Linked DNA regions of Homo sapiens: region 2 is linked to region 1. Evidence: promoter capture Hi-C in 16 types of primary human blood cells and fetal thymus (Javierre and others, 2016). All regions are on one chromosome and are shown on one strand. Each heading gives the region's core, a stretch centred on a gene start or on the middle of the fragment in contact. The rest is flanking DNA. Distances are from core to core; before and after follow the strand shown. Region 1 holds the start of HIPK4 (homeodomain interacting protein kinase 4). Region 2 has its middle 50 kb from the start of ZNF780A.

Region 1 (5,731 bases), core at 1,178-3,677:
CAGGCTTGGGCCACCACACCTGGCCAGCCTGTTTCCTTCTCTGAGTTTTTCTGCTTTTCATTCAGCCATTTCTCAGTTTTTTGTTTTTGTTTTGTGTTGAGACAGAGTCGAGCTCTGTCGCCCAGGCTGGAGTGCAGTGGCGTGATCTCAGCTCACTGCAAAACCTCTGCCTCCCAAGTTCAAGTGAGTCTCCTGCCTCTGCCCCCCAACTAACTGGGATTCCAGGTATGTGCCACCACGCCTAGCTAATTTTAGTTTAGTTTTTTTTTTTTTTTTTCTGAGACAGAGGGACTTCCTCTGTCGCCCAGGCTGGAGTGCAGTGGCGTAATCTCAGCTCACTGCAACCTCTGCCTCCCGGGTTCTAAGCGATTTATCTGCTTCAGCCTCTGGAGTAGCTAGGATTACAGGTGCCCGCCACCACACCCGGCTAATTTTTATACTTTTAGCAGAGACGAGGTTTCACCATATTGGTCAGGCTGGTCTTGAACTCCTGACCTCAGGTGATCCACCCGCCTCGGCCTCCCAAAGTGCTGGGATTACAGGCGTGAGCCACCGCACCTGGCCATCCCTCACCTTTCACTTGCAGAAAGCAGTATCATGAAATGGTTATTAATTGCTATTCTGATCCCAGAGTGCCAGGGCTTCAGTACCCAAGAGGCTGAGTGACCCTGGGCACTTAGTCTATGTTTGTGGAATGAATTCATTCCTTCCACAGAGACAGTGGGGGTGATAATGCCGGCCAGGTGCTGTGGATCCGTCCTGTCTGTCCCCTGCTGTGTTTGTGGAAGTCCCTGCTTCCCTGGGTCTCTGTCCTTCCACCTCTTGGGGCAGAATAATCCACCTTTTTCTGTCTCTGTGTCTCTGGCAAGCATTCATTTAGCACTGGCTCCATGACTGCAGTGCTGGGAGATGTCAGGGACACAGCGATGATTAAGTCAGCCCCAGCCTTGCCCTCAGGGTGCCCCTGGTTCAGAAGCATCCAGACAGTATCAAACTCAAAAGCAGACAGAGGACTGGGCATGGTGGCTCACACTTGTAATTCCAGCACTTTGTTGAGGCCAAGGTGGGCAGATTGCTTGAACTCAGGACTTTGAGACCAGCCTGGGCAACATGATGAAATCCTGTTTCTACCAAAAAACACAAAAATTGGCTGGGCGTGGTGGCTCACGCCTGTAATCCCAGCACTTTGGGAGGCTGAGGCAGGTGGATCACAAGGTCAGGAGTTTGAGACCAGCCTGGCCAACATGGCGAAACTCCATCTCTACTAAAAATACAAAAATTAGCCGGGCATGGGTGGCGGGCACCTGTATTCCCAGCTACTCAGGAGGCTGAGGCAGGAGAATCGCTTGAACCCGGGAGGCGGAGGCAGTGAACCAAGATCATGCCATCATCACCCCGTCTCTGATAAGTACAAAAAAAAAATTAGCTGGGCGTGGTGGCGCATCCCTGTAATCCCAGCAACTCGGGAGGCTGAGGCAGGATAATCACTTGAACCCAGGAGGCGGAGTTGCAGTGAGCTGAGATTGTGCCACTGCACTCAAGCCTGGGTAACAGAATGAAACTCCGTCTCAAAAATAATAATAATAATAATTTTAAAAAATTAAAAAAAAAATCTAGGGCTGGAAGAAGCTGGGAAAAAGACAAGGAACTAGGGACGCAGCCACCCTAGACGACCCCTACTCACCTTGACCCTGAAGGGGCAGCGGGTCTGGTCCACCAGCATGATGTTCTCAGGCTTGAGATCAGCGTGGATGATAGCCAGCTCCTTGAGCCGGGCCAGGGCTGTGAGCACCTGCAGGGTGACTGTACGGATGTGGCGGGCGGGGAGGGGCGCGAAGTTGTTCTCCTTCTGGAACTCGAAAAGGTTTTGCTCCAGCAGCTCAAAGACCAGGTAGAACTTGAGGGCGTCATGGAAGAACTCAAGGAAGCGGATGACGTGGGCCTCTTCAGGGTCTAGGCCTCGCATGCAGTGCAGCAGCTTCAGCTCGTTCTTGATGATGCGGTTGCGGTAGGCGTCATTCTTGAGGATCTTGATGGCCACCATCTCGCCCGTGCTCCGCCGCCAGCCCTTGGCTACCTCCCCGAAGGTCCCCTTGCCCAAGACCTCGATGATGTCGTAGCAGTCAGTCTCCGACTGGATGGTGGACATGGTGCCGCTGCTGCCAGACACCGCCCTGCCCAGGCCCCTGTACCACTGGCTCTGCCGCCCAGGCCTCCCGCCTGGCTGCTGACACAGCAGGCCCCCCAGTGGGGGAAAGAGAACCGCACTCGTGTCTCCTCCTATGAGGTTGGCCCCTGCTTCCCTGGCACCCCCAAACCCCCAGGCCACACTGTCAGTCTGCCAGGGGCTGCACCCCTCCCCAGAAACCCTCCTGGCTTGGGATGAGGGGCCCCAGGCCCCACCGAATGGGTTCCAGCGCTGTTGAGTGGCTCTGGTTCTGTTGTTGGAGACCTGAGCCCTGGCTGGAGTGGGGGTGGGGTACCAGGCTGGGCCCCCTCCCCCGCCCAGTGGCGGAATCTTGCAAAGACCAAACAGGTGAAGTGTTGACAGAGGGGGGTCTAATCGTGGGCCTTGGGCATACAGGAATGGGGATAAGGCAGGAGTGAGGAAAGGTGGGCTTCTTGAGCTTGGGAGATGTGATGTGTGTGTGTCTGTGTTCAGAAAACTCCTGTCCCAGTCTGTGGCTACTGTGGGGTGAGGTTGTAAAAGGCCCTGAATGCCAGGCTAAGGAGTTTGGATTCTGTTCTGAGGGCACTGGGGAGCCACAGAAGGGCTTTGAGCAGGGGAGGGCAGGGTCAGATATGAGTGTCAGAAAGTTACTGTATGAAAAGGGATAGGTTGGAGCGGGTAAGAGTGGAAGCCCCAAGCCAGGGAAAGAGTCCAGGACAGGGCACAGATGGGAGAGGTTGGGGAGGAGAGGGCGAGGCCAATGGATGAGACACTCAAAAGGCCAGGAGAAGCAGCCGTGAGACCGACGGTTTGAGGGAAAGGCGGGAGCTGTCTAAGAACGGGCCTAGGGCTCTGGGATGAAGGGGCAGTCCCCGAGAAATGGACATGGATAAGAAGCAGCTTGGGGGAGATGTTGAGGCCAAATTAGAAAATGTATTTATTTTTGGCTGGGTGCGGTGGGTCACGCCTGTAATCCCAGCACTTTGGGAGGCCAAGGAAGGCAGATCATAAGGTCAGGAGATCGAGACCATCCTGGCTAACACGGTGAAACTCTGTCTCTACTAAAAATACTAAAAATTAGCCAGGCATAGTGGAGGGCGCCTGTAGTCCCAGCTACTCGGGAGGCTAAGGCAGAAGAATAGCTTGAACCCGGGAGGTGGAGGTTGCAGTGAGCCGAGATTGCACCACTGCACTCCAGCCTGGGTGACAGAGCGAGACTCCATCTCAAAAAAAAAAAAAAAGTGTTCATTTTTATTTATCTTTTTAATTTTTTGTAGAAATGGGGTCTCACTATGTTGTCCAGGCTGGTCTCAAGTGATCCTCCTGGCCTCAAGTGATCCTCCTGCCTCAACCTTCCAAAGTGCTGGGATTGTAGACATGAGCCACCACTCCAGCCAGATTAGAATATTTAACAGCGGGCCGGGCTCGGTGGCTCATGCCTGTAATCCCAGCACTTTGGGAGGCTGAGGCAGGTGGATCACCTGAGGTCGGGAGTTCGAGACCAGCCTGACCAACATGGAGAAACCCCGTCTCTACTAAAAATACAAAATTAGCCGGGTGTGTTAGCACATGCCTGTAGTCCCAGCTACTCAAGAGGCTGAGGTCGGCAGGCTGAGGTATGAGAACTGCTTGAACGCGGGAGGTGGGGTTGCAGTGAGCCAAGATTGCGCCATTGCACTCCAGCCTGGGCAACAAGAGTGAAACTCCGTCTCAAAAAAAAAAAAAAAAGTAAAAGAAAATGTAACATCAAAACATTTAAACAAGGATGAAGTTCTTTAGAAGTCTTATCTGATCCTTACAACATACAAAGTAGGGATTTTATGGAAGAGAAAATCAAGGCACAAAGAAGTTTTTAAAGTGCCTGGCCAGGAGTGGTGGCTTACGCCTGTAATCCCAGCACTTTGAGAGGCCAAGGTGGGCGGATCACCTGAGGTCAGGAGTTTGAGACCAGCCTTGCCAACATGACAAAACCTCAACTCCACTAAAAATACAAAAATTAGCTGGGCATGGTGGTATACACCTGTAGTTCCAGCTACTTGGGAGGCTGAGATCGGGAGGCTGAGGTATGAGAATCGCTTGAACCTGGAAGGCGGAGGTTGCTGTGAGCCAAGATTGCACCACTGCACTCCAGCATGGGCAACAGAGTGAGACTCTGTCTCAAAAAATAAAAATAAATAAATAAATGATAAAATAAAATGCCTAAGGTCACTCAAGTGACTGCCAGAGACAGCCTCTGACCCTAAGCAGCCTGGCTCCAGCGCCAAACTCTGAACCACCACCCACACAACCTCCTAAAAACCAGGAGACCTCTGGAGAAGGGGTGCAGAAGCTGCTGGGTCCCCAAGGGGATGCAGGAGAGAGTTTGGGAGTTGTCAGCACAGAGAGGAGGCGTGGAAGCCATGGGGGAGGGTGATGCACCCTAGGGAGGGTGTGGGGGTGGACAAGGGCCCGGGAGGAACCTCCGGTGCCCAAGGAGCACGGGGAGAGAGAGGTGTGGGGAAGAGGAGCAAGTGTCAGGAAGATCGAAGGGGCCTTGAAGAGTCAGGACAAGAGAGACAAAGGAAACCCTCAGGCGTGGCCACGGGGAGGTCACTGCTGACACAGACAAGGTAGGAGGAAAACCCCAAATGCTGGGGTCTTGGAAATGGGGGTGCACTGTGAGTGTAGATAACTCCTGCCATGTTTGGTGGGGGCAAAGAAAAAGTGTGTGGTGAGACAGTGACCTGAGGAGGGCTGGCTGGAAGGGACAAGGTACTCAAGTGAGTGGGGGATTCTGCCAGGCCCCTCATCCACTGAGACAGGATAGGGAGATGTGAGGAGAGTGGGGGGCTGTCGGGGCGAGACTTGGGACTGGATATTGAGTCTCCTTAGTCCAGTGTGGGACATCACAGAGAGACATGGAGGAGGCTGGAGGCCCTGCTGGGAGCCTCAGGACTTAGATCCTGAATTGGGATGGCAGGGATGGATGGCCCATGGCCCCTGGGAGCTGAGACCAGCACTGACAGGTGCTGAGGACCCTGGGACCTAGTTCCAAGAGGCGGCTGTGTTTCTGGGGTAGAGGCTTTGAGGGGACCAGGAGCAGCCTTCCTGGGTGGGGCCAGAGTGGACAGGGCAGTCAAACCAGCCAGACAGGAAAGAGAAGGCCAGGATGTGCAGAAGTGCCCTCACCGGCAGAGGGCAGGTGGGGAGCAACCAGCCTGGTAGGAGTGGGTCCCCCAGGACAGGCAGGCTTCCTGGCAGAGGGGTCCCGAAGCTGTGCTCTGCCAGGGAACATCCCAGAGTCCTCTTTAACAACCCCTGGGAATTCTCAAGGGCTAGGGACGTCTCCCTTCCCACCACGGCCTGTCCCAAGGCCATCCTGAGTCTTTGTTTTTGTTTTTGTTGAAACAGTCTGGCTCTGTTGCCTAGGCTGGAGTGCAGGGGCACCATCAAGGCTCACTGCAGCCTCGACCTCCCGGGCTCAAGTGATCCTCCCACCTCAGCCCCCCGAGTAGCTGGGATTACAGGCACGGGCCACCATGCCTGGATATTTTTTGTATTTTTTGTAGGGATGAGGTTTCC
Region 2 (5,731 bases), core at 866-3,365, 250 kb before region 1:
ACTTCCCAAAAAAATAGACTCTTCTCTGTCCAGTGAGCCTAACATCCTGACCTGGAGAGGCAAGAGCAGGATTTTTTAAAAGCACTTCATAGAGGCCACAGTAGGAAAGGCCAAAGATGCCCAAACTCATCAGTATTCAGAATATTCTAATTAACACACAATGAGGCCAGGTACGGTGGCTCACACCAGTAATCCCAACACTTAGGGAGGCCGAGGTGGGAGGATCGCTTGAGCCCAGGAGTTCAAGACCCACCTGGGCAACATAGCAAGACTCTGTTCTCCACAAAGAGAAGGGGAAAACCCACAACGGCATACCATTTCATACCCAGCAGACTGTCGAAATGTAAGTCTCTCAATATCAGGTTTTAATCCATAGAATAAAATAAATATCCACACTTCTCGGCCGGGTGCAGTGACTCACACCTGTAATCCCAGCACTTTGGGAGGCCAAAGCGGGTGGATCACTTGAGATCAGGAGTTTGAGACCTGCCTGGCCAACATGGTGAAACCCTGTCTGTACTAAAAAAAAAAAAAAAAAAAAAAAATTAGCCAGGTGTGGTGGCACACACCTGTAATCCCAGCTACTCAGGAGGCTGAGGCATGAGAATCACTTGAACCCAGGAGGCAGAGGTTGCAGTGAGCAGAGATCACAACACTACACTCCAGCCTGGGTGACAGAGTAAGACTCCACCTGAAAAATAATAAATAAATAAATAAATCACACTTCTGCATGGATCGAAATAAAAAAATAAATACATGAGGAGAAGGGATGGTTCTATCTTTCAGTAGATTTACAATTTATAAATGTAAAAGGAGAAAGGAATATGAAAAATTACCATTAGTCAAATGTCACAGCAATAACTGTTGCAGACAAGATCCACCAATGGATGCTAAAATTTGTGGGCAAAAGTTTGAGAAGGAAAAAGACTTGTATAGTCTCAAAAAATCTCCTTCAAGATAGTTTTTAATTACCAAGGGGAAAATAGTAACTTTACAGTGGAGATGTGCAGCATACAGCAATTTAAGTGATCAAGGTCAGCATCACCAGCAATAAGATACACTGACATCAGGTGCCTCCTGATATCATGCACTGAGAAGGACACAACATCATTTCTGTGGCGTTCTTGGCAAAAACTCATAACTTTAGTCCAGTCATGAGAAAATGTCAGACAAGCCCAAATTGAGGAATATCCTATAAACTAACTGATCAGTACCATTCAAAAGTGTCAAAGTCAGTTGGGCATGGTGGCTCACACCTATAATCCCAAAGCTTTGAGAGGTTGAGGCAGGAGGATTGCTTGAGGCCAATAATTCAAGATCAGCATGTGCAACACAGTGAGACCCCATCCTGACAAAAAAAATTAGCCGGGCACCATGGCATGTGGCTGTAGTCCTAGCTACTCAAGAGGCTGAGGCAGGAGGATCCTCTGAGTCCAGGAGTTGAAGGTTGCAGTGAGCTATGATCGCACCACTGCACTCCAGCCTGGGCGACAGAAAGAGACCCTACCTCTTAAAAAAGCAAAGTGTCAAAGTCATGAAACACAAGCAAATACAGAGGAAATGTTCCTGTCTAGAAGAGACACAACAACTGAACACAATATGGGAGTCTGGAACAGAAAAAAGGAAAAAAAAAGGACATCAATAGAAAAAGTGTTAACATTCAAATAAGATTGGTAGTTTAGTTGATACTGTGATACCAATGTTAATTTCCTAGTTTTGATCATTGTGCTATGCTAATAACAATAGGGGGAGCAGGATGAGAGATATGTGGGACCTCTCTGTACTATCTGCACTTTTCTGCAAGTCTAAAATTATCTAGCATTACAGCTTCCACCTCACTCTCTGCGTTAACTTGCTCACCATCTGGCCCTCCCCACAGTCCCCATCATGTGGCCTAGCTTCCCCTAGAGCAAGTGGACCCAGAGGAGTGTGAGTGAGCCCCCTTGGAAGGGCATTCTCCAGTTCCTTTAAACCCTTCTGATGACTGAACCCCAGGCCAGTGCCTTCGAACCAGAACCATGTGGATAAGCTGCTCTCAAATACTTGACCCACAAAAAGTGTGTGAGACAATAAATGTTTACTGCTTTTACCTCCCAGATTTTCTTTTTGAAATTCAGAAAGTTGTTGTTGCACATAATGACGACTAGATGGCACCAGAATTCCAAGGATAGAAGCAGGCTGCCAGCATCATGAACTCAATTGCCTCTGAGTTTGTTTACAAATTTATTGCAATCCCAATACAGATATCATCAAGGGTTTTGTGTGTGTGTTTGTGTGTGTGTGTGTGTGTGTGTTTTCTTTTTTTGCCCCAGAGCTAGAAAGAAGCAGTAGCAGCCGTGGCTGCCACCAACTTAGGCAGTAGCTCTACCAAATACTTAAAACGATATAAGTGGCCAGGCGTGGTAGCTCATGCCTATAATCCCAGCACTTTGGGAGGCTGAGGCGGGTGGATCACCTGAGGTCAGGAGTTTGAGACCATCCTGGACAACATGATGAAACCCCATCTCTACTAAAAATACAAAAATTAACTGGGCATGGTGGTGGGCACCTGTAATCCCTGCTACTCGAGAGGCTGAGGCAGGAGAATCCCTTGAACCCGGGAGGCAGAGGTTGCAGTGAGCTGAGTTTGCACCATTGCACTCCAGCCTGGGTGACAAGAACAAAACTCCGTATCAGAAAAATTAAAAATAATAAAAATAATACAATAAAAATAAAACAATATGTGCCCTTGCCATGGTTGGGGCTAAAAAAAAAAAAGTAAATAAAAACAATATTTTAAAATGTGTTACTGATGCATAAATAAGCAGACAGATCAAAAGAAGGTTAGAAAATCCAAAGACAGAAGCAATTGCTGATGGAGATTTATATGATGATATAGTAATTTCTAATTCAGGAAGGGACTTTAGAAAAGGTTTTAATTTAGTAGTGTAGAAACAACTAGATGACCACGTGAAAACAAAGAAGCTTGAATGCATTTCCCACCCCATATACCAGATTAAATCCTAAACATATCAAAGATCTAAATGAAAAAACACAGCCTCACAGATAATAAAACACTGGTGAGTTCCCTCATTACCGGGGAGGGTGTAAATTTTCCAAACTATTACTCAAGATCCAGAAGCCATAAAAGAGAATTTTGTTAAATGACCAAACAAAAAAAAAACAAAAACCTTTTGCGTGGCCACAAAATAAGCCATACACAACCAAAAACTACAGATGACAAAATAAGAAAAATATTTACCACTTATATCACAGAAGAGAAAGAGTTAAAATCCCTAAAATATAAAGTGTCTAAAAATTAAGGGAAAAAAAACAAGAAACCTATTGAAAGCGGGCAAGATACATAAACAGAGAGTTCACGTTAAAAAATGCAAATGCCACCTAAATTTATAAAAATAGCCAGACACAGTGGCTCATCCCTGTAATCCCAGTACTTTCGAAGGGAAGGTGAGGGGATTGATTGATCCCAGGAGTTTAAGACCAGCCTGAGCAAGATGACAAGACCTTGTCTCTAAATAAAATAAAATAAATTAGCTGAGTGTGGTGGCACACACCTGTGATCCCAGCTACTCGGGATGCTGAGGTGGGAGGATGGGAGGACTGCTGGAGCCCAGGAGTTCAAGGCTGCAGTGAGCTATGATTGCACCACTGCACTCCAGCCTGTGTGACCGAGTAAGACCCTGTCTCAAAAAATAAAAAATAAAATATCACACCTGTAATCCCAGAATTTTGAGAGGCTGAGGCAAGCAGATCACCTGAGGTCAGGAGTTCAAGACCAGCCTGGCCAACATGGCATGGTGCATGCCATGTTGCAGCCAGGCAACATGGTGCAGCCAGGCATGGTGGCATGCACCTGTAATCCCAGCTACTCAGGAGGCTGAGGCAGGAGAATCGCTTGAGCCTGGGAGACGAAGGTGGCAATGAGCCAGCCGAGATTGTGCCACTCCACTCCAGCCTGACTGGCAAAGCAAGAGCCTGTCTCAAAAAATAAAAAATAAACTAAAGCTCAGCCTCACTCATAATAAAAGAAACACAATTAAAACTGCCCTGAGATCCTATTTCTCACCTAACAGATTAGCAAAAATCCAAATGTTGGACAGCCCTCTTGTTGGCAACGCTGTGGGGAAACAGGGACTCTTCCATTTTACTGATGGAATATAAAAAGATAAAACCTCCATGGAGGAGAATTTGGCAATATCTAGTGAATTTGCCCTTTGACTCAGCAATCCTACTTCTAGGAATTAGGTCCAAAGACACAGACAGAAATAGGAAACTTCATATGAACGTGCCTCTTCACTGGAGCCCTACGCATGATAGCAAAAAACTGGAAACTATTGCAATAGCCATGAAGAGGGTGCTGCTTAATTCAACTATGCTATATCCACAAATACAGAGCACTGTACAGCTGTGAAAATAAGATATATTAAGATTACATATATATGTGATGTGTGTGTATGTACAAGTGTGTACACACGTGTTTTTTTGTTTTGTTTTTTTGACTATTTGTTTGTTTTGTTTTGTTTTGAGACAGTCTTGCTCTGCCGCCCAGGCTGGAGTGCAATGGCACGATCTCAGCTCACTGTAACTTGCACCTCCCAGGATACAAGCCATTCTCCTGCCTCAACCTCCCTAGTAGCTGGGACTACAGGCACGTACCATGACGCCCTGCTAATTTTTGTATTTTTAGTAAAGATGGGGTTTTGTCATTTTTACCAGGCTGGTCTTGAACTCCTGACCTCAAGTGATCCGCCCACCTCAGCCTCCCAAAGGTCCTGGGATTACAGGCGTGAGCCACCACACCCGGCCCATGTGTACACACATATATAGTCACCTCCAAGATGTAGTTAAGTGAAAAAACCAAGGTGCAAATTGGTATGAACAGGATGTACCTTTTGCTCAATAGAGAGGAAAATGAATACATATGTTCATTGGTTTATATTTTCCAAGTAAATGGAATGTCAAAACAATTTTTGCGATTGGGACTCAATCACCCACAAAACAATGGTTTTGGTTTTTTGTTTTCTTGAGACAGGGTCTTGTTCTGTCACCCAGGATGGAGTGCAGTGGTATGATCACAGCTCACTGCAGCCTCCACTTCCTGGGCTCAAGCGATCCTCCCACCTCAACCTCCAGAGTAGCTGGGACTGCAGACGTGTGTGACCACGCCCAGCTAATTTTTTACTTTTTATAGAGATGGGGTCTCATTATGTTGCCCAGGCTAAAACAATGTCTTAAAGTAATTTAAGATATATTAATTTGACATAAATCCCTAATGGGGTATATCCTCCTGGAAAAAAAAGCACCATAAGAAAATCTTAAACTATATTTAGTCATCATATTACTAGTGATAGTATTGATATTTTAAAATTTTATATATGCACATATATATTCAGATATGCATATATATTCACATACTTCAAAACGTATGCTGATGTCACTACAATTCAAAATTCTCTTTTTTTCTTTGAGAATTCAACATTCTCTGAATAAGAAAAAAGAGGCATAATAATAACATTTTAGAAGTTGTAAAGGGCAAAACTAAACTATGGACACACATTTGGATAACTAATTACTATAAAGAAACACAGAGATGATTGCTATAAAAGTCAGGCTGGCCAGGCACGGTGGCTCACGCCTGTAATCCCAGCACTTTGGGAGGTCCAGGCGGGCGGATCACCTGAGGTCAGGAATTCAAGATCAGCCTGGTCAACATGGCGAAACCCCATCTCTA

What was found. Contacts are between HindIII fragments. The CHiCAGO score rates a contact against its expected background, and 5 or more counts as called.
Region 2: a contact is called between a fragment that was not itself captured here and the fragment with the promoter of HIPK4 in region 1, in 2 of 17 cell types (M0 macrophages and megakaryocytes). The highest score is 5.4, in M0 macrophages.

What each region holds. Positions count from the first base shown.
Region 1 is chr19:40,387,754-40,393,484 of GRCh38, forward strand. HIPK4 (homeodomain interacting protein kinase 4) reads right to left here and starts at 2,428. Exons shown (of 4, transcript NM_144685.5): 1 at 1,685-2,428. The coding sequence starts at 2,149. RefSeq lists enhancers at 1,781-2,330, 2,331-2,880. The HindIII fragment of the contact is 16,517 bases long and covers 1-5,731 here.
Region 2 is chr19:40,137,841-40,143,571 of GRCh38, forward strand. No RefSeq gene overlaps it. Among named protein-coding and RNA genes, the nearest start is that of ZNF780A, 50 kb to the left of the region's middle. The HindIII fragment of the contact is 1,694 bases long and covers 1,269-2,962 here.